Linked DNA regions of Homo sapiens: region 1 is linked to region 2. The links are contacts of gene promoters, found by promoter capture Hi-C in human tissues and cell types (Jung and others, 2019). All regions are on one chromosome and are shown on one strand. The core of a region is centred on a gene start or on the middle of the fragment in contact, and the rest is flanking DNA. Distances in the headings are between cores, read along the strand shown.

Evidence for each region. Contacts are between HindIII fragments. The study calls those that stand out against the background at their distance.
Region 1: a fragment that was not itself captured here is called in contact with the fragment with the promoter of FAM83C in region 2 in 2 of the 25 tissues and cell types used here (adrenal gland and spleen).

What each region holds. Positions count from the first base shown.
Region 1 is chr20:35,256,995-35,261,350 of GRCh38, reverse strand. The region is part of intron 2 of MMP24-AS1-EDEM2 (MMP24-AS1-EDEM2 readthrough); the gene reads left to right. The region is part of intron 4 of MMP24 (matrix metallopeptidase 24); the gene reads right to left. Among named protein-coding and RNA genes, the nearest start is that of MMP24-AS1-EDEM2, 19 kb to the left of the region's middle. RefSeq lists an enhancer at 1-77. The HindIII fragment of the contact is 5,720 bases long and covers 1-4,356 here.
Region 2 is chr20:35,289,836-35,293,697 of GRCh38, reverse strand. It overlaps FAM83C (family with sequence similarity 83 member C), which reads left to right and starts at 1,273. Exons shown (of 4, transcript NM_178468.6): 1 at 1,273-1,906. The coding sequence starts at 1,394. The HindIII fragment of the contact is 12,597 bases long and covers 1-2,871 here.

The DNA of each region.
Region 1 (4,356 bases), core at 561-3,060, 33 kb after region 2:
TGGCAGCTGTTGTAATCCTATGTAAGATAGAAGCTTGGTTACTGGAGGAAGCCCATTGACCAGAAAGGAAGCACGAGGCCAGTGGAGCGCCAGCAACCAGATCCTCTGAAAGCCAACTCCCCTGGGCTTCTGTATTGTGCCTAGGACAGGACAAGGAGGCCTGAACTTAGGGGGATGAAGTAACCGCAGCTTTGGGGAGAAAATGCAGGGGGTAGGGAGTCAGGTAGGCTGTGGATCACCAGTCCTGACTCCTGTCTGCCCAGTGTCAGACCCTTGCTTGCCTTGACCTCTGGCATTTGTAGCCCCTTGAGCCCTGCCTCTTATCTTCTGGCCCTAAGGCATGGCTCGGCCCATTCCTGCCACCTGTAAGTCCAGGGAGGCTGCCAGGAACCTAGGAGGTGGTCTAGAGTCCTACTGCCCACTCTGGCCCCAGCGTCACTGGCCTAGGGACACATGGGGGTGGGGATTGTTTGGCCTTCCTGGCTTAGGTCTCTGGAAGAGAGAAGAACCCCATGGGGCAGACCCAGGCCACGGGCAGTACATGCCTCCCACACTACTGACACCGCCAGTGTCTTCTGTGAAGCCACCTTTGAGCAACGGAAAGGAAGGGGGATGGGCAAGATCAGTGCAAGGTTGGCCAAAAGCCTGGGGCTGGCCTTCTGCTGGCATGAGAGGGCCAGGCCGCCCCCAGCTCCTTACTCAGGTCCTGGCCCCTCTGGCAGCAGGGAAGGGTGAGCTCATCGCTGAGCTCCATCCCAAACAAACTGGTAGAGCCAGCGGAAGGCAGCTCTGCTTCCTGGGGTCCAGTCCTGGCTGTGCTCCTGGGCTATTCTATGACCTGGGACAAGCTGTTCAGGGCCTCTGTCTCCTGAGCAGGCTCTTCCCCAGGGGCTGTCCACAGGGAGCTCAGCTGGGAACCAGGGAACACGGCTCTGAGCACTGTGGGAGACTCAAAACCTTTGTCCGCAGCCTTGTCTCTTGCTCTTTTAACCCCTGTTCTGGGTCTGCAGAGAACAGGAGTGACCCCTTAAAGGAAAGAGGCCTGTGGTTTGGGTCCAGGAACCAAAAGGAAGGGAAGAGCGAGGGAGCCAGTATCCTGCTGCACAGAAACCCAAGAGAGCCCTGAGGGGGAGACAGAGGGAGCAGGGCAGGGGCAGGAGGACTCCCTGAGCTTGTGAGGTGAAGGCAGAGGTATGAGGAGGAGAGGCCTGCTATGAGGACCCCATGCTCCATGGGCAGGAGGCTGCTAGGGTCTTCACTCTTCAAGAGGGTGAGCGGCAGGGAAGCAGAGTGGTCAGGAATGCAGTCTCTGGGAGCCAGACTGCCTGGTTTTGAATCCCAGCTCTGCCATGTCCTAGCAGTGTGACATTTTAAATTCTTCCTCTGGAAGATAGAAGGAACAATGGCACCTTCGTCATAGGGATGTGGGTGAAGATTCATGGGGCAGGGTGTGTAATGCGCTGATACCAGCTCCTGGTACAGAAGTATTACCCTTCATTAGCAGGGTCCTGTTGAGCTGTGTGTGAGCACCAGCACCCCTGATAGGGTGTGTTCCTGTAAGTCCCTGGGCCTCCGAGCAAGTCCCCAGCAGTCTACTCGGCTACTCAAGTGGACCTTGTCTCTGCCTCATTTCTTTCTTTTAGGATCTCCATATTTGGTCGTTCCCATCTCATTAACTCCCCCAGCCCCACGAAAGGTGATAGCATTTCCCTTTGCCTCTGTTCTTCTGCCAGTGCTGCCCCTTCCCCTGGAATAACCTGATTCCTTCAAAGTTCAGCTCCATGCCTGTCTTCCAGGAAGCCTTCCATGACTTCCCAGCTGGCAGTGAGTGCTCCTTCTGCTGTGCCCTCCCAGCAGTTTCCCTGAACTGCCTTTATGGCACTGACCGCTTCCTCCCCACGTGATTGCCACTAGTGCACATGCTCGCTGCCCCAGGACTGTGGGTTCCTTGAGGACAAGCTTTGTGTTGAAGAACCAGGTGACAGCCCCCGGAATGGAACAGCGCCAAAAGCACCGTATTTTACCAAGGGAAATACTCGGACCACCTGCAGCAGAACCACCTGTGGTGACTTAAAAATGCGGAGTCCTGGGGTCACACCTGGCTCTGCCACTTTCCAAAGGGGTGAATTTCCTATTTTTTTAAAAAGTATTTTCTTTCTTTTTTATTTTTGAGACAGGATCTCACTCTGTCACCCAGGTTGGAGTGTAGTGGTGCAATCTCGGCTCACTTGAACCTCCGCCTCCCGGGTTCAAGCCATTCTCCTGCCTCAGCCTCCCGAGTAGCTGGGATTACAGGCATGTGCCACCACACCCGGCTAATTTTTGTATTTTTAGTAGAGACGGGGTTTTGCCATGTTGGCCAGGCTGGTCTCGAACTCCTGACCTCAGGTGATCTGCCCCCCCTCGGCCTCCCAAAGTGCTGGGATTACTCCAGTGCTCCCATCGCACCTGGCCCGGGGAGCCTTTTAAACACATGGAGGAGGTGGGGAAGATATTCTGATTCAGGAGGTTTGGTTTGGGACGTAGGCAATCTTTTTTGTTGTTTTTTTTTTTTAAGTTCTCCAGGTGAATTGTATAATGGTTGGGTCAGGCTGACACAACCTGAAGCAAATGCTCGACCTCAACATCACTAAAAGTGGGACAGTCTGCATCATATGTATTTGCTAATATGGTGAATAGGAAGTACCAGCACCACCTAGGAAGTATTCTTGCCAAAAAAATTGAACTTGAATCTAGTCAGCCTGTAAATCTAATGAACAACATTCAGGAATTATGGGCAAGAGAGACGTATTAAAAGTAAACTTGATTCTAGTCACGCCAAATGATTATACTCGGGACACCTGACCCAGTTTCTTCAACAAATATATGGAGGGAAACGTGTGTGTAGGACGGGGGTGTTTTAAATAAAAAGGGCTTTAAGAGACATGTCAGCCATGTGTGTGTGGATCTTGTTTGGATCCTGATTCAAGCAAACAACTGTAAAAGACATTTCCAAGGTACTTTGGGAAAGTGAACTCGAACTGGGTATTAGATTTTAAAAAATTATTGTTAATTTTGTTGGGCTTGATAATGATTGTGTGCTTATGTTAAAAATTAGCCTTTATCTGTTAGAGGTATATACTAAAGTATTTAAAGGTGAAATGTTAGAATGCCTGAGATTTTCTTTAAAATACATCAGCCAAAAAAAGGTAGATAAATAGGAATGCCACAACGTTGATAATTGCTGAGGCAGGTGGTGGGTATCTGGGAGATCATAGAAGCATTCTTCCTACTTTTGTGAGTTTGAAATTTTCCATAATGAGAGTTTAGAAAAAAGAAGTAAGCTAATAAGTTCAAAAAGTTCCCAGGAAACTCCACCCCTTTGCTGAGTCTATGTGGAAATTAAACGAGATAATATATGGATGCTCAATAAATTTTGGTTCCTTGCCTCTCACCCAAAACCTGCCTTCACTGCATTCCAGTTCAGGAGTCGATTGCTGTGGTCCTGAGCTGCATCTGGACAGTTCCTGCTTGGTTTTCCAGAGCAGAGCAAAGTCCTGATTCTTATCCAAAGAAAACATTAGCAATCTTGGAATTTCTATCAGAATTGGCAGTCTTTCATGAAGGTTAGGGTTGGACAGATGGGAGAGGTGCTGGGATGGTGCCCATCCACAGGTCCCCGGTCCTTCCCACACATACCACCGGCTCTTGGGATTTGGGGGCTGGGTCCAACAAGTTCTGCAAAAGCAAGGAGCAGGTGTGGGAAGTGCACACCCCCAGTGCTGGGCAGAAGGGGAGGGCAGAGGAGTGGGAGTGTCTTCCCGTTGCCTCTGGACAACTCTTTGGACATTCATTTGCCTCTATCAGGAATATAACTAAAACCCTATCAGCTAACAGTGCCTGGCACATAACAGGGCCTCAAAAATATTAGTTCTCTTCTCCTCACATCTTATCTGTTAGCACAGACAGCCATTCGTTGACACCGATCCAAAAATAAGAATGAGATAAAGAACAGGTACTCAGCCAGGAATACATGCAGGACATACGGGAGAGATACCAGGGCAAAGGAAACGGAGTTCAATAGGAAAGAGGACAAAAATCTGAAGAAAGAAGAGGACAAAGAACAATTTAACAGGTTCATGACTTTGCCTAGGCTGAGCCTTGGCCAAACCACCTCCTGGTCCAGCCTTTGACAGATAACCCCAGAGCTGCCAATCCCTAATCCATGCGATGATATAAAGTGTTCTCAAGGAGGTGATCCCCAACTATAGACACCAAACATGGCCCCAACTATAGACACCAAACCAGCTTTGAGAGTCTGCTCTCAGCCTGGAGCAGCCGCAGGGCAGGAAAAAAGGATGCTCGGTGTTTCCCAAG
Region 2 (3,862 bases), core at 24-2,523:
GCACTGGGCACTTGTTTAAAAACTCAGGAATTTGAGGTTACAGTAAGCTATGATCACATCACTGCTCTCTCTAGCCTGGGTGACAGAGCAAGATCATGTCTCAATTAAAAAAGAAAAATGGCCAGGTGTGGCGGCTCACACCTGTAATCCCAGCACTTTGGGAGGCTGAGACAGGAGGATTGCTTGAGGCCAGGAGTTCAAGATCAGCCTGGGCAACATAGTGAGATCCCATCTCTAAAAAAATTTTAAAAGTAGCCGAGCATGGTAACATGCACCTGTAATCCCAGCTACTCAGGAGGCTGAGGTGGGAAGATCGCTCGAGTCCAGAGAAACTGAGGCACAGCTGTAGTGAGCTGTGATTGCGCCACTGCCCTCCAGACTGGGTGACAGAGCAAGACCCTATCTCAAAAAGAAAAAGAAAAAAGACAAGCTCCAGAAGCCTACGGACACCTTCTGGATGAGAATTTCCAGGAGGGTGGGGCCCGGGGATCTGCATTTCATCACCTCTCACCACCCCTGGGGTCAGGGTGAGAGCCACTGCTCTAGGTTCTTGAAGGACAGCTCCGAGCCGGGGTGGGAGAGAGCCAGGGGGCTGTGAGCACCACAGTTAAGATGATGGAGAGTGGCAGGACGATTATGGGAGCAAAAAGAGGGCTGGCTGGGGGACAGACCAGCGTTGATGTCCTTGGATATTCCATGTGACAGTCGTTCAGCTCTCAGGGCCTTGCAGACTTGAGCCAGGGCACGTGCTATCCACTGTGGTATGTGTTGTGGGGGTCATGGCCGGTCTCTACATCGGCGTTTGGGTGAAGAGTTTATGCAAGTGGATGTGATTACAATGTGTGGTCGGTCTGTGTCAGCCCACACTCCATGTCTGTGTATCGGTCAGTTGTCAGTGTGTCCATCTGCATGGGTGTTCATGTCTTTTCCTGGGTGTCTTGAGTCGCTCACCCACCTGCAGTGTGTGTGCGTGTGCGTGTGAGTGTGTGTTCCTGAGTCGCCTGGGCCCCTCTTGGCTGTAATTCAACCTCTGTGGGTCCCGGGAAGTCAGCATTTGGAGACTTGCTGGGAGCCTGGTGGGGATGGGGCGGCGTTGCTGGGAGGAAGAGAGGGAGGCAGGAGTGTGCACCGAGGGCCTGGCACTGCCGCTTCCCTGGGCAGGCGAGTCCCAACACAGGCAGACAGGTGGGGCTGACCTGACAGGTTCCAGAGGCCAGGGGCAATAGGGTGGAGCGTGGCTCTGATTTAGGGTGGCAACAGTTTGGGGGCCCTGCCACACACACAGCGAGCGGGCGGGCAGAAGGCGGTTCTGCTGGTCTCCTCTTCCTGCTGCAGCCAGCCCAGCGTGCGGGCCATGGGCCCTGCCGGCGGGTGAGGCAGCCGCGTGGCAGGCATGTTCGGAGGCCCGGGGCCTGGGGTCCTGGGAGCCCAGGGCATGGCGGGACCCCTGCGGGGCCGGGTGGAAGAGCTGAAGCTGCCGTGGTGGCGGGAGAGCTCACCGCTGGTGCTGCGGCACAGCGAGGCGGCTCGGCTGGCGGCCGACGCCCTCCTGGAGCGGGGTGAGGCTGCCTACCTGCGGGTCATCTCCGAGGAGCGGGAGCTGCCCTTCCTGAGCGCCCTGGATGTGGACTACATGACCAGCCATGTGCGCGGGGGCCCTGAGCTCAGCGAGGCTCAGGGGCAGGAGGCCTCCGGGCCAGACCGCCTCAGCCTGCTCTCTGAAGTCACCTCAGGGACTTACTTCCCCATGGCCTCTGACATAGACCCCCCAGACCTGGACCTGGGCTGGCCCGAGGTGCCACAGGCCACAGGCTTCAGCCCCACCCAGGCTGTGGTCCACTTCCAGAGGGACAAGGCCAAGAACATCAAGGACCTGCTGCGCTTCCTTTTCAGCCAGGCCCACACGGTAAGGGCCTCATCTCTCCATCACTCATCTCACAGAGGAGGAAACTGAGGTCCAGAGAGGGAAGGGACCAGCCCAAGGCCACACAGCGACTTAGGGGCAGAATGAGGACCAGCACCTCTGGCACTATTAGATTGCAAACTCCTAGAAGGGGGACATCCCATATTTACCTTGGCAACTGCTTGGTACCCAGGAATAGTATGGATGAGCATAGAACAGGGCATGGGTGTCAGGGACTCCACAATCCCCTGAAATGCACACGAAGTGGTGCAGGTTGGAGGGAGGAGTCCTCGCTGCATCTTTACCTTGGAAGATGCTCCACTGCCTTAAATCAGATTCTCAAAAAGTTTTATGATCCCCACACTAAGAACTCCAACCTTGGGGAACATCTGAGTCACCTCCTTCACTTATAGAAGAAGAAACTGAGGCCAGAGAGGGGCTTGGGACTTGCCCAGGGAGGTCCATATGGTGACATAGAGCTCAGGGCTTGGGGAGACAGGGGCTCTCTGACTTGGGTCCTGGGGACCAGTCCGGCCCTCCTTGCTGGCTCAGGTCCCTAGTTGCCCCCTACCCTCCTGCACCACATCTGCAGCTGGGCCTGAAGCAGGGGAAGGGGCCAGCGTGTGGGCCTCTTTGGCGTGGCCTTGAGGGCTGGGCTTTGGAACCAAGGAGGAAGGAGGAGAGGAGGCTGCTGGGCTCAGTGATGGGGAGCGGGAGCTCAGGAGAAAGAGAATTGGGAGGGCAGGTAGGGGTGGTCAGCACCCAGAAAGGCTCTGGCCACACACGAGCACAGCTTCCCTTCTGAAGCCCTGGCCTCCGACTCCAGGGGAATGGACGAGATGATCCCTGGCAGGGTTTGAGGGAGAGTTAGGCTCCTGCTGCAGAGATGGGAAGCCAGGATGCTGGGATCCCACCGGTACTTCCAGAGCCTCCCTGGCAAGCCTTCCTGTGCCCCAGGCAGGGGACGGCCAGGCCTGATTGGCATCAGGAATGGGGTTATTAGTGAGGCTGCTGCTGTCGTCCTCCTCACCCCTGCCTCTTTGATCTTCCTGCCTGTCCTTGTTCCCCCACCCTGGCCAGGCCTGTGCTGTGAACTAGGGCATCCCCCAGTGCCTCGCCTTCTCAGCCCCCATTTAGACCCCTCTATCCTGGGTCAGGAGCCAGGTTCGTGCACTGGGCTGTCATGACTCCTAGTGACCTTGGGAAATGCTGCGTTGCCCTGCAGCCCAATGTTTATAGAGCTCTGTTATGTCTTGAGCATTTTCACATTTAATTCCCTGTAACTCTGAGACATGGCTATCATTATCTCCATTTAACAGATGAGGAAGGTGAGGCTTCCAGAGGTGAAGGGACTCACCCAAAGCTGTGTCACCAGGAAGTGATAGAGTCCAGGTTTGAACCCAGTTCTTTCTGACTCCAGAGCTGGAGTGCTATGCTCTGTACCTCCTGCCTCTCGGCCCTGCCTGGGAGAGAAGACTCTCATAGCAGATATATGCCATGGGAAGAAAGGCCAGCTGGGGGCTGGGAGGTGCCAAGAAGGTTTCAGGGGCCTCTTTGAGGCAGCCCTTTATATGGGATGGAGGCACAAGCCCCAGCCCAGCCCTCAACTGAGCAGAAAACTTGGATCCATTTGGCATGGGTGCAAGTAAGGGAGTCTGCAGTGTAAGGGGTCACACCAGACCTCTGTGGCTTCACAGGGAAACTGAGGCAGGACTGGGAAAGGGCAGCGAAGACCCCAGTAAGTGGCTTGTAGCTGTGACCCTGGAGAAGGGAGCCTCAGACAGACAGTCCCTGGGTCAGAGCTGGGCTGGAGTTAGTCGGGGGAGTGCCAGGAACTTGCCTGGGAATTGGGGTCTGGGTTCTCCTTCTCACTGCTGTCCCATCTGGGGCTCAGTGCAGAGGGAGTGTTGGACTAGCACAGCTGATCCACAGTCATCTTTGAGAATCTGATGATGGATA